Linked DNA regions of Homo sapiens: all the other regions are linked to region 1. Evidence: promoter capture Hi-C in human tissues and cell types (Jung and others, 2019). All regions are on one chromosome and are shown on one strand. The core of a region is centred on a gene start or on the middle of the fragment in contact, and the rest is flanking DNA. Distances in the headings are between cores, read along the strand shown. Region 1 holds the start of INSL4 (insulin like 4). Region 2 overlaps INSL6 (insulin like 6). Region 3 has its middle 6.2 kb from the start of INSL6.

Region 1 (4,578 bases), core at 686-3,185:
ATTGATAACCTCAATGCATTATGTACTGGATAGCAATAGGGAATTTTTTTTATAATCACAAGTTATTCTAATAGAAAGATTCAGATATTCAAATCTGATCCACATAAATCTATACATCTATATCAGTGGATCTTAGCTAAAAGGCTGAGAAGCAACATACATCTATATGTGTCGACACCAAATGTTAACATTTGTTATCCATGAATACTTTCCATTTTTCTTGTTAAATTTATCTATATTTGTCAAAGTATTTAAATGAGGATTTTCACTTATTTACTGAAAAAAAGTGAAATTTAAATAGAAATTATAGTACAGCATGCTCTTCCTTAGTTTGCATTAGAAATTGTTTGGACTTTGTGGTATTCTTCCCTTATTTTATAGTAAAATGAAACAAGCTCTGACTAATAATGTAAAAAAAGGAAATAACTTTGAAATCGTTATATAAATCACACAAAATCCAAGTGCATTCACTGTGCACGATAACTTTAAACAGAGTCATTTAATGATTTAATGAAGTGTATGCATATGGGTTACAAGAAGCAGTTCTGGAGTCACACATTGCTGGTTCAAAACCTGTGTCATTTGTATTAAATGTAAAACAATGTTTAGTAATTTAACTTAGCTTTTCAGAACTTAATACGACCTATTAGACAGAATATAGTAGCCTCTATCTCTTTTCGAAACTGCCCCTGCTAGTTTTAACTTAGCTGGCAATTTATCTTTATGAATACCTTGTTACTTGGTAAAGTTTGAAAACTATCCTGGTATTGAACTTTCCTCAATTCTGAAATCTTGCTTTTAAAGAAAATGCTTTGCAGTCTCAAATGTTGAAAACACTAATCAAATCAGCTATGATGGTCTGAACAGTGAAATTCCCTTGTCTCTGGTCCCCTTCAATTTCCCCTCTAGTCATCCAGGCCACTTTCTTTCTCTTCATCTCATCTCTCTCAACACACTACAAGAGTAGATTCAAAGAAATGGGAGGCAAGGTGCTCTGTTGGTGTGCATTAAAAAAAACTTTTTTGTAAGAGGACGTTTTTGGTGACATAGACCACTGCCCAGCTTAATGACAAAGGATGAGAGTTATTAAATCTAAGCCCCCTTTATCTCACATTCCAGGAACCTAACAGAGGTCTCAGTGTGCTGCCCCTAGGCCAATAGGTGCATAAACAGAAATGATAATCAGCTCATCACCTCACTGTTTGTCCCCTTTCTTCTTAATTGAAGATGCCTGGCCCAGGCATCTCATTGCAATCACACCTGTTTTCTGGCCTGCCCAGCTTTCCTGGGGGTCTGGGAGTACACCTCACCTCCTGCTGGTGTTTGAGAATAGTCACCTTCTCTGAGGATTCCCTGTTTTCTCCACCCTGTATCTCTGGCTGCCAGGTGGGAAAGGCACCAAGAGCCTCCAAGGTGAGGCTGTTCTTCTGTTTTTCCTGCAGCTTCTCCTCTACCCCCAACTTCCCATGAGATTTCTGGTGAGACCCTTTTAATAAAAGCACATTACAATGAAAAACCACAAACTTGTAGGCACTAGCCACAGTAGAGTCTGAGTTGACTACAGGCAGTCAATGAGATCTGGAGCCTGTTTTTTCAGGCCTCATTCTGATTGTTTGGTAGTCCAGGGCTCTCACCTTTGGGACGTCCAGATTCCAGCAGCCACCCTCCTGGGGTGGTGGTGAATGTCTTCTCAGGCATGGGGCAATATGACAGCAAGTGTTTTCCAAATCGGGGACCACATCCCCTCAGCTCTGCTGCTAGGCTTTCTCTAAGGAGTTGGCTCAGCAGCAGCCAGATTGCTGGCAGATAGGACCGGAACAGGCTGGCCATCCTGGACCTGAACTCTCCTGTTCTGGGTGTTCTCAGCCTTTCTTTAGAGACTTGCTGCTGTAGCCTACCAGACTGTGCTGGTGTGTCCCTTCTGGGCTCCAGACTGCTTTCTGCATGCCTTCATCAGGCATTTATTTGCTTAGGGCTATTACTCAGCTTTTGCGTCAATGGTGTCAGTTCCACCCCTTTCCCACCCACCTACAAGGAACTTTCTCCCTCAGTTCTTATTTAGTCTCCCTACTTGCCCTACCCACACTCTCATATCCCTCTTTGCTCCCAATGTGCTGCTGCACTTTGCTTGTTTTGAATTTGGTTGTTCTACTTCTTTTTCTTAACTTTCCTCCTGTAATACTATTTTTATGCTTACTAAAATAATGGTAATTTTTAATGTCCTTTGCTTAGATGAAATAAAAATAGAACTGACCTGTAAGCTCATTGGCTAGAAATTATCTTAGTTAACATTTGGCATATAAGCTTTTAATTGCGGGGGTCTGTCCCACAGACCCTGACCCAACGACGGATGAATAACATACACTGACACAGATAGTTTGCCTGTCAGTCCAGCTGAGGGTCCGGGCCACCTACAGACACCAAGGAGGGTGCTGTAAAGAGTTGCAGCCGTGGCCCCGATCAGCCAGCAAAGCTCACATTTATTCAGCATAGATTAAATGACGAAGGTCTTGAGTAAACACCACTAGAAGGTAATTGACATTGCCAACCTCCCGAGTAGAGAGCAATTATGCACCCGCGGTTGATCAAAGATTAGTCTTAGGACCACATGAGTAAACAAACTAGATAAACTACATTCATTTGTATCTGTGCCTTAAGCTATTAACTCAAGGTAAGGATTAGGCTGCCTTCAGCCTGATCTATTACTGGAGCTTATACAAACCCCTCCGGCGTTTCAAAAAGGTTTGCGTCTTTTTCTTATAACTATCTGAAAAAATTTTCCCACCAGCCTGACTGAACTCTCACATCTCCCCCCTTTCTGTTCTTTGCATCGGGTTCTGTTGACTTAAGAGTACAGATGTGTGCAGCAACAGGTTTGTTAGGTTTTGCTTTTATTCCGGCTTTGCATCATAGAATTAGCAAATAACGTAAGACAATCATGAGTATAATTAGTAACATTCCTTTCCAGTCAAAGTGTGACCCCCAGGATCGGGGGTATAACCAGGAGAAATGATCTTGCACACCTTTCCATATGGCTGTTTGTTGAGTATGTAGATCTATCATGTGAAGGGATTCTAAAATTTTAGTTTTAAGTTGCTTTACGTCTGCTGTTAAATTGTCATGAAAGTTTCCCCAGAGGTGTTGTTTCACCTCATCCCAACTATGTATTGATTGATTCCAAGGTAAAAATGTGACACAGATATGTTTATGCTCCCAGTCACAGTTTAATTGCTATCAGAATGCTAGGGCATCTTGTCGCTCCCCCACAAATTCCAAGGCAGCCTCGAGGGCTTGCAGACGTGCAAGAATCTCTTGATCTATACCCTGCTGTAAGAGAAGTTCATTAGACACATTTCTGGCCAAATTGTCTACAAAAGCAGCTGTTTGCACTGATTCGGTAGTAGATGCTATAGCCACACTAGCAGTTGCTAGGATGACTATGGCTGAGACTATAAAGGTTATAAGTGTGCCTATAAATCTTTTGGGTCTGACCTGGGATAGGGCACATTCTAAGGTGGCAAAGGAAGAGGAACCTTGCCAATAGTGTGTCAAATTGACGGGTAGGAATGCCTCAGATTGTCTCCTTAATACCATGACACTAGTAGTATTTAAATTAGATATATTGTAATTAGTGGTACATGAGGCAAACAAAGCCTGTCCTTGCACCCGGGTCACAAACATGGAATTTTGGGTTGTAATAGAAATATTAGTTCCCATAAGGAAAACATATGGATGGAGTTGCAAATTAGGGACTGATCAGTGTGATTATGAATAAAGGTTATAGTATAGTTGTTACTGTAATTATGATATGTCCCATGCCAGGTGTCAAGGGAGGTGCTAAGATGTCCCAGGCAACATAAAGTGTCTTGGGGAGGCATCAACTTTACTCGGGGTCTGGGATATCCTATCCTCCCATCGGCCCAAATCATAAGGGAATGGGACGAGGCTATGAAACTGTGATCGATGCCATGATGGATGAGGATATCAGTAAGGCTGCCCTACAAATGGCCACAGGGGCTCCAGTCTAGGATGTTATAATTGCCTAACTGGAGGCTATGAGCTTATTCCCCATGACAGATCTCCCAGCTAAAGTGGAATCCGTTATTTTTCCGGCTTTGTTCTTTAGCACAGGAAGGAATGTTTGGGAAAGCAGACTTGATTTCCGTTTTGAGGCTACCTGCAGCTAAGACTGTTAAGGCACTTCTTTTGCCATGATGTAGCCATAATTGTGTTTCAGTAGGTGCACACTAAGGGTTAGAACATTTATAATTTACACACAATGGGAGGATAGTAGAGTGATCTGTAGTGTTATCTGGCACCTTAGTCCAATGTGTGCCATTATTGAGGAACCCCACTGGGGGTAAATCTATCCCTCCTAGCTAAGCAGTCACGTTATTAAAGGCTGGGAAGGGGTTGTATACCCAAGTGACAGGGCAAAAGAAAAGTGGATCTAAGATATGAGCCCAATAGAGTGTAGACATTGCCACCCTCCCGAGTAGAGAGCAATTATGCACCTGCGGTTGATCAAAGGTTGGTCTTAAGACCACATGTGTAAACAAGCTATTTAGATAAACTACT
Region 2 (4,578 bases), core at 686-3,185, 63 kb after region 1:
GTGTGGGAGTCTTAAGTCTCTTCGTAGGTCTCTAAGAACTTGTTTTATGAATCTGGGTGCTCCTGTATTGGGTGCATATATATTTAGGATAGTAAGCTCTTCTTATTGAATTGACCTGTTTACCATTATGTAACGCTCTTGTCTTTTTTATCTTCGTTGGTTTAAAGTCTGTTTTGTCAGAAACTAGGATTGCAACCCTTGCTGTTTTCTGTTTTCCATTTGCTTGGTAAATTTTCCTCCATACTTTATTTTGAGTCTATGTGTGTCTTTGCATGTGAGATGAGTCTCTTGAATTCAGCACACCAATGGATCATGACTGTTTATCCAGCTTGCCCTTTGTGTCTTTTAATTGGGGATTAGCCCATTTACATTTAAGGTTAATATTGTTATGTGTGAATTTGATCCTGTCATCATGATGCTGGCTGGTTATTTTGCAGACTTGTTTATGTAGTTGCTTCATAGTGTCACTGGTCTGTGTACTTTGGTGTGTTTTTGTAGTGGCTGATAATGGTTTTTCCTTTCCATATTTACTGCTTCCTTCAGGAGCTCTTGCAAGGCAGGTCTGGTGGTGATGAATTCCCTCAGAATTTGCTTGTTTGGAAAATCCTTTATTTCTTCTTTGCTTATAAAGCTTAGTTTGGCCAGATACAGTATTATAGGTTAGAAATTATTTAAGAATATCTGCTGGGTGCAGTGGCTCATGCCTGTAATCCCAGCACTTTGGGAGGCCAAGGCAGGTGGATCACCTGAGGTCAGGAGTTTGAGATCAGCCTGGCCAACATGGCAAAACCCTGTCTTTACTAAAAATACAAAATTAGCCGGGCATGGTGGCGCATGCCTCTAATCCCAGGGACTTGGGAAGGGTGAGGAAGGAGAACCACTTGAACCCTGGAGGCCGAGGTTGCAGTGAGCCGAGATGATGCCATTGTACTCCAGCCTGGGTGACAAGAGTGAAACTCCATCTCAAAAAAAAAAAAAAATCAAATAAATATTGGCCGCCCGTCTCTTCTGGCTTGTAGGGTTTCCACTGAGAGGCCTGCTGTTAGTGTGATGGGCTTCCCTTTATAGGTGACTCGACCTTTCTCTGGCTGCACTTAACATTCCTTCATTTTGACCTTGGAGAACTGATGATTATATGTCATTGGGCTGATCTTCTCATGAAGTATCTTATTGGGGTTCTCTGGATTTCCTGAATTTGAATTTTGGCCTGTCTTGCTAATTTGGGGAAATTCTCCTGGATGATATACTGTAGTGTGTTTTCCAACTTGTTTCTGTTCTCCCCGTCTTGTTCAGGTGCCCCTATTAGTCATAGGTTCAGTCTTGTAAGATAATCCCATAGTTCTCGGAGGTTTTATTCATTCCTTTTCATTCTTTTTTCTCTAATCTTGTCTGCCTGCCTTATTTCAGCAAGATAGTCTTCAAGCTCTGATATTTTTTCTTCCACTTGGTCTATTCAGCTACAAACTTCAAACTTGTGTTTGCATCGTGAAGTTCACGTGTTGTGTTTTTCAGCTCCATCAGGTTACTTGTCTTCCTCTCTAAACTGGTTATTCTTGTTAACAGCTCCTGTAATGTTTTATTATGGTTCTTAGCTTCTTTGCAACAAGTTTGAACATACTCCTTTAGCTCAGGGATGTTTGTTATTATCCATCTTTTGAAGCTTACTTCTGTCAATTTATCTATCTCTGACTCAGCCCGGTTCTGTGCCCTTCATGGAGTCATGTTACGATCATTTGGAGAAGAGGCACTCTTGCTTTTTGAGTTCCCAACGTTTTTGCACTGATTATTTCTCATCTTCATGGGTTTATCAACCTTTGATCTTTGAGGCCAATGACCTTTGGATGGGGTTTTTGTGAAGTCTTTCTTGTTTATGTTGTTGTTGTTGCTCCCTGTTTGTTTTTATTTTAGCAGTAGGGCCACTCTTCCATAGGGTTGCTGCAGTTTGCTGGGAGTCCATTCCAGACTTTATTCACCTTGGTTTCTTCCACCCCAGGAGGTATCACCGTGGAGGCTGCAGACCAGCAAAGATGGCAGGCTGCTCCTTCCTCTGAGAACTTTGTCCCAGAGGGGTGCTAACCTGATGCCAGCAGAACACTCCTGTTGGGAGGTCTCACCCAGTTTGGAGGAATAGGATCAGGGACCCACTTAAATAAGCAGTCTGGCTGCCCCTTGGTAGAGCAGGTGTGTTGTGCTGGCAGAAATCTCCCTCTCCAGAGCCAGTAGGCAGGAAAGACTAAAATGGCTGATCCACGATAGCGTGGCCAACCCTCCTCCTAGAGCCTCTTCTCAGGGATATCAGAGTTCTATCCATAAACCCTCCACTGGGGATGTGAAAATTCCCACAGGGAGGCCCTGCTCCGTGAGGGGGAATGGATTGGAGTCCCACCTAAAGAAGCAGTCTGGCCACAAACTGTCCCAGCCGCTGTGCTGTGCTGTGGGGGAATTGCTCCCCATCCAAACTGCACTGGCATCATGGTAGGGGAAAACGGTGGACTGAAGACACAGTAATGGCAGCTGCCTCTTCCCCCCAGGAACTCGTGGTCTCAGTGCCTGCTCAAGTGCCACCCACCTCAGCAGCCACCATCAGTCTGCATAGCTTAATGCTTGGAACCCAAGGCCCTGGTGGCATGGGCTCATGAGGGGACCTCCTGATCCCCAGGTTGCAAGGATTCATGGTAAAAGCATGGTTTTCAGGGAGGGGTAGCACAATCCCTCACTGCCTCCCTTGGCTGGGGAAGGGAGCTCCCTTTGCCCTGTGTGGCTGGCTCCCAGGTGGGCCCTAGCTCCACTGTGCTTTTCCTTGCTCTCTCTGAGTCACGCCAACCTCCTAGTCAGTCCCAATGAGAGAACATTGGTAACTCAATTGAAGATGCAGAATCCACTTGCCATTTTTGTCCTTTTCGGTGGGAGCTGCAGAGCAAAGGTGTTTCTATTCAGCCATCTTGGCTGCTTCCCCGAACCGTTTCTTAATGTATTTGTAAAACGTGTTTATGGATTCAGTTAACTAATATTTAGGAGTTTGAAATCAACATTTGAAAGTCAAATGAGTTTTTAAATATTTTAAAATCTCATATTGTTCTTACCTAGTTTTGGAATAAAGATTATGCCAGCTTCATAAAATGAGCTGGGCAGCTTTTGCTCGTTTTCTGGAACAACTTGTATATTATTAGAATTTACTGTTTTTTAAAAATAAGTGGAACCACCCATATCTGTGTTTTTTTGAAGGTGATAACTCTGACTACCCTTTTCATTTCTTTGAATATTGTTGGTACACTTAGGTTTTCTGTGTCATTGTGTACCAGTTAAGGCATCTTGTATTTTTCTAGGAATTCATCCATTTAATCTTTATTTTTAAATGTGTAAGCATTCATAATATTTATTTTAAAACTTGGCTGTATTTACTTATTTCTTTTTTTCTGCTGTATTTTGTTCATTTCCATCTTTTTTGTTCCTGATTAGTCTGGATAGAGTTCTATCTTATTCTTTTAAACAAGCAACTTTTTAATTAAATAAAAAGTTATTAAAGAGTGCTCTAATAGGCCTCTAACTGCAAAGAATATAGATTCACCTAAATAACCTCAAGATAAAAGGGGATAGTAGTTATTATAAAAACAAACAAGGTATAGAAGTGGACCTAGAAAGACTTTGTAAAGCCTAAGAAATCATATTACCTCTTAAAAAAACAAAACAAAAACAAAAACAAAAATCTTCTGCCTTCCTCTCTCTCTGTGAATCTTTTCCGTGTGTTTATGTTCCTTTATGACTTTAGCTTGTCATGACAAACCTCATAGAATCCTTCTAGCTTTGGTTCTCACTAACTCATCTTTTTCTCGTTACTTCTTAGTTCTAGTTTCAAACTGAGGAAATCTGATTGGGTCGATTCATGTTTTTCACATGACGTGGATTGCTAGCCATTGTGACAGATTGGTTTCTTTTGGGTCAGGTGCCAACTTCCAGTTTGTTCCACTGTGGCTAGAGGGTGGAGTCACATGGTTCAGAACATGGCTGCCTAAGAGCTGGCTCTACAGTAGAGACTATTGGCAAATATATCCTCCTAGAAGGTACTGTAGATGAGCAAGGGCCATAATGGAAGTACAATAAGTCTTCAAATAATTACCTTCTGGAGTTATTTTGGTTTCCAGTATCCAGTATTGCTAAGTGAGTTAAGAGCAGCATAACAGTGACAATCAGTTCATTGTACCTAGAGCATATTACCACTTCTCTATTTCTTTATATTTTAATAAAGAACAAAATGGTTTCTACTGCTCAGTTGTAAGATGTGCATAAGAAGACAAATTATCAAATTTGAAAATGGGCAAAGGATTTGAAGAGACATTTCTTCAAAGAGGATATATAATAAGCATATGAAAAAATGCTTAACATCATTAGCCATGAGGTAAATGCGAATCAAAAATATAGTGAGCTACCACTGTGCATCCATGGTGATAATCAAAAAATGGAAAATGTCAAGTTTTGATGGGGATGTGGGAAAATTGGAACTCTACTGTACCGATGCTGGGATTGAAAAATTGTACAGCCACTGTGGAAAAGTTTGGCAGTTCCTCAAAACATCAAACA
Region 3 (4,578 bases), core at 733-3,232, 39 kb after region 1:
TGTAGTATAATTTGTGTTTAATTTTCACTTTTTCTGAATAAATTAGTGAAAATGGTCATTAAAAATCTTTGAAAACTGTAGATGAATTTAACAAGAAAAATGGAAAGCACACATAGAAAATCAATGTTAAATGTCTGGCATTGGGGTGGATGTAGATATAGACGTACAGTTATATGTGAATAGAGACTTAAATATGTGAGTCTTTCTATTGGAAAATTTGTGATTATGAAAGAAATTTCCTTAGTGTTATCTAGTCCATAACGCAGTTGGAAGTTATCAATCAAAATAGCGTTAGAGAAAGTCAAAAGTGCCATGGTGCAAGCATCTTGATTGTCACGGAAAGAGTCCACAGACAGGAGAGTGAAGTTAGCAGATCCTTAATAATACTGTAGTACTTCAAGGTGCCCAACTCTAAGTAAGCTAAGTTGTTTAGATGTTAGGATACTTGCTGATTCTCTTTGGTGTTTAATTACATTGAGGCAATGGTTACAATGCGATCCAGGCAAAATTCTGTAATTTTTCTAATCCTCTTTGAAATGAATGTTTTTCCTCACCTTTCACCCCTCCTTTTTGACTTCACAGAGATGATGTCATCCACCACTAATAAAGATGCAGGGACCTTAGATATGACGTTGGGATTCATTCCTAATTTGTCACAGGAGCTGAAGGCAATTCTGTCTGAGGGGTAGCTGTCACTGAGAAAGGTACTACTTTCCTGACAAAAGAGAAGTGAAGCTGATGATGCCAGTAAACTATGCTGTGAAGAATGTTGTGACAAAGGGACTTTTCTGAAAGTATGCACAAAGTAAAGTAATTGTGAACTTCTCACCTAACCTCCTATGTATTCTCCATGAAACATTCAGTGATGTCCAATTCAGTGACCACTGATTGTTAGAATGTGAGAAATCATTATTAATGCTTACATGTTTCACTTGCTCTGTAACACCATAGTCTTTTCACTATTGTACTTCTATGAAATTGATCTTTTTTCTGCTGAAAAAGTCTCTTTCTCTTTTTTATTGAGAGTATATGTAAATCAATTGCTTTTGAATCTCATTGACTATATAATGATTATAAAAGCTTTATTACTTTAACCAACATAATAACTTTTTATACATAACTGACACCAACCACATGTAACAGTTATACATTTATTTAATCAATTTTGTCAACGTATACTACATGAACACAAAACCACAAACACTGCAATATTTTACTTCATTGGAAGTGGGAGGGTTTGGGGCTTAGTGAAATATTATTTGAAAGCAAGCTGAACTGACAATAAATATATTCAGATTTTTGTGCCCAAATGAACTCAACTGTTTCTCTAGTAAGGTTTTTTATGCTTTTAAATAAATATATAATCATAGAGATAACTGAATAAATAACTCATTTTTTGTCTCAGAAAGAACTAGCGAGGAAATGGATTCAAGTCTACCATTTTAGAATTTACAGAACATTTACGTAAGTAAAACAAACCATGAAATAATATGAGCATTTCTTAGAGTTGGTAAAACATCATGGTATCATTTTTAAATTTAGTCAGTTTCTTCAACCTCTGTATCCATACATATTAGCTAGCCTTTACAGAGAAAATGCACTTTAGAAAAAATTTACTTTAGAAAAAGTAAATTGCTTCAATCAAATGTCTGTAAACAGAATTATAGGAGACTAACATAGAAGTTCCTATATTCCAAAGTTCCATACATGGTCAATCATAACCAAGGCTCTAAGGTTTATCATGTCCTCTCTTAGTCCCTCCTGGAGAGCTTCTTCTCATTGAGAGAGCAGAGAACGACAGAATGTAACTGTTTGGGGAGAAAGCCAACATGTTTTAAGAGTTGTGCTTTCATGGTGGAACCTTTGTTGCTCATTGTAACTCTTGCATTCAGACTTACTTATCTGCAGTACACAGCTCACTGTCCATTCCAGAACACATTTTCTCCAAGTTCGTCCTTAACTGATAACACTGAGGGCTGTCACTATTATCTACTATCTACTGAAGTAGTTGCCTCAGTCTGCACCAGTACATACTCCTACTACTAGCCTATCTTTCTCTCCATTTTTCCCTCTAGTTTCCCAGATGTGTCATGACCCCTACCTTTCTTATTCCCAAAGACTGTTTTTGCGCAACAGGTATCAATTTTAAGGCACAGTCTCTCACGTGCAGAAAATATCCACCTTTCTTCTTTACTAAATCAATAGCAATCCCAATTCTGTTACTTAGTAGAGAATTCAACATCAGACATTGTTCTAATGGGGACACCCATGAAGGTGTGCACTGAACCCAGGGTCTTAGCGCCAAAGCACTAAGATCCTTGGGCTGCACTGTCCTCAATGGCTACCGCTGCAACACTCAGTGCAATCCCACATGGTCCTCTCACCTCTGTACTTGTGTCCCTCACTGGGGACAGAAAGAATGCTGACAAGGATCATATCTCTTCCCTTGGATAGGGAAGTTTCAACCTCAGGGTAATTTAAGGAAATAATCATATTATCTCCCTTCTGTTTCTTTTTCTGTGTCTGTCTCTGTATTTCACTCTCTCTCTGGCTCAAGTCCTATCAGGGTTACTTGTATAACTTTTTATATGTCTTTGGGCATTTATAAACAATTGGAAGTGCAGCTTTAGGCATCTCCTTTCTAGCATAGCCCTTCAAAAGTAAGCTAGACGGGCAAAAACCAAGGCCCAGGCAGCCTGCTTGAACTGGGCTGGGGAATGGAAATGTGAGACGGAATAATACAGTATCATGCCAAGCCAGGATAACATCTCAAGAAATTATCCTAACACACACACTGATCACTAACCTTTTCAGCCTTTCCTTCTCCCTGGCATTAGTCCAGATGTGAGGGAAAAATGATAATAGATGAAGTTTCATAATTTTACTAGTATATATAATTTTAAATCTCTTAACCAAGAAATGTTCAAAGCTTTGCTTCCTGGAGGACATTTGGAAGATATAAATTTCCCTTTATTCTTAGTTTTAATATTCTTTATAAATCAGTGTGACAATTGAAGTAAAAGGACAGACTCCTAGAATAGCTCTAAGGCCCTACTGTGAGATTCCCAGGGTGGATGTAACGAAGAACCTAAACTGGTTTAAAACAAAAGAATTTTTTTTTCTCATGGTTCTGAATGCTGCAAGCTAAAATCCAGGTGTTGGCAGTGCCAATGTTGTTCTGAAACCTTTGGGGAGCATCCTCTTTTCTTCTTCCTAACTTCACATGGATTGCTGCTGCTTTTTGGCATTCCTTGGTTGTAGCTGCAGCTCTTCAATGTTGTCCCTCTTGACACATGGTGCTCTCTGTTCCTTTGTCTTCACATTATCTTTGTGTAAGGATATCCATCCTGCTGAATATAGGGCCCAGCTCCAGAGGGACCTCATTCTAACTAACTACATCTACAGCCACGCTAGGGTCTATAAAGGTCCCATTCTGAAATACAGGTATTTATGGTTTCAGTGGATCACTTCGGGGACACAATTCAATGCATAACAGAGCCTGGAGAAATCCAGACAGGACAGTCAGGGTGGTGAAGAATACGCTCATTTACCTCTCTTCCCTCCCTTGATACACAGAAATAAAAATAAACCACTCTTCTGAGAAGACACAGAGGCAAAATTTTCTCCTGGGACTACAAAATGGTACAGCCACCCCAGAAAATATTTTGGTGACTTTTTAAGAAAAACTAAACATGTAACCATGCAACCATCTTACAAACCAGAGATTATATTCTTGAACATTTTCCCAGAAATTTAAAATTAATATTTACATAAATTCTGCACATGAATGTTTATATAGGCTGATTTGTAATCGCCAAACACTGCAACTACACAAAATGTTCTTTATGCATGTTAGTTACACAAACTGTGGTATATCCACACCATTGAATAAGATTCAACAATAAAAACAGCCAACTAGTGACAAGTGCATCAAGCCACATGACTATCCAGAGATCAGGCTGAGTTTTTTCACTAACTCCAGAAAGTTACATGCTTATGATTTCATTTCTAAAACATTCACAAAATGATAAAATTTAAAAATGGAAAATCTTTTTTTTCAAAATTTAAGGAGTGGGTTAGGGCGCAGGTTGGAAGTTGGTATGACTTTAAGGAATCCTTATGGTGGTGGAACAGATTTATATCATGACTGTTCAACTGTCAATATCCTCATTTTGATACATGCTGTAGTTTCATAGCTGTTACCTTTTGGCAAAACTGGAAAGGGTCTAGTAATTATTTATTACATTGGCATGTGTGAATCTGTAATTATCACAAAATTTAAAATTTAATTTGTTAAAAACCAGAAACTTCAGTTTTAGAAGTTGTTAGGGATTCGATGTAAATTGTTTCCTGTTGTCAAGTCAGGAAAAACAGTGAGGAATTCACAGAAAATATGAAGTTGTTAGTAAGAAATTGATCATGAAATTTAAAAAGTGGCAGATATGATCATAAATCAAAATGAGTTTCTCTAAGAACCTCTGACTGGATGAAGTGGAGACTGGAAGATGGTACAGATAGAAGGCTATGAGGAAGGGAATTCAGAAAAGAGCTTCAGAACCTCAGAGACCATCAGCTACC

What was found. Contacts are between HindIII fragments. The study calls those that stand out against the background at their distance.
Region 2: a fragment that was not itself captured here is called in contact with the fragment with the promoter of INSL4 in region 1 in 1 of the 25 tissues and cell types used here (psoas muscle).
Region 3: a fragment that was not itself captured here is called in contact with the fragment with the promoter of INSL4 in region 1 in 2 of the 25 tissues and cell types used here (pancreas and psoas muscle).

What each region holds. Positions count from the first base shown.
Region 1 is chr9:5,228,776-5,233,353 of GRCh38, reverse strand. It overlaps INSL4 (insulin like 4), which reads right to left and starts at 1,935. Exons shown (of 2, transcript NM_002195.2): 1 at 1,635-1,935. The coding sequence starts at 1,830. RefSeq lists a promoter at 1,841-2,658. The HindIII fragment of the contact is 9,700 bases long and covers 1-4,578 here.
Region 2 is chr9:5,165,330-5,169,907 of GRCh38, reverse strand. All of the region lies in intron 1 of INSL6 (insulin like 6), which reads left to right. Among named protein-coding and RNA genes, the nearest start is that of INSL6, 18 kb to the left of the region's middle. The HindIII fragment of the contact is 3,819 bases long and covers 26-3,844 here.
Region 3 is chr9:5,189,562-5,194,139 of GRCh38, reverse strand. No RefSeq gene overlaps it. Among named protein-coding and RNA genes, the nearest start is that of INSL6, 6.2 kb to the right of the region's middle. The HindIII fragment of the contact is 5,042 bases long and covers 1-4,503 here.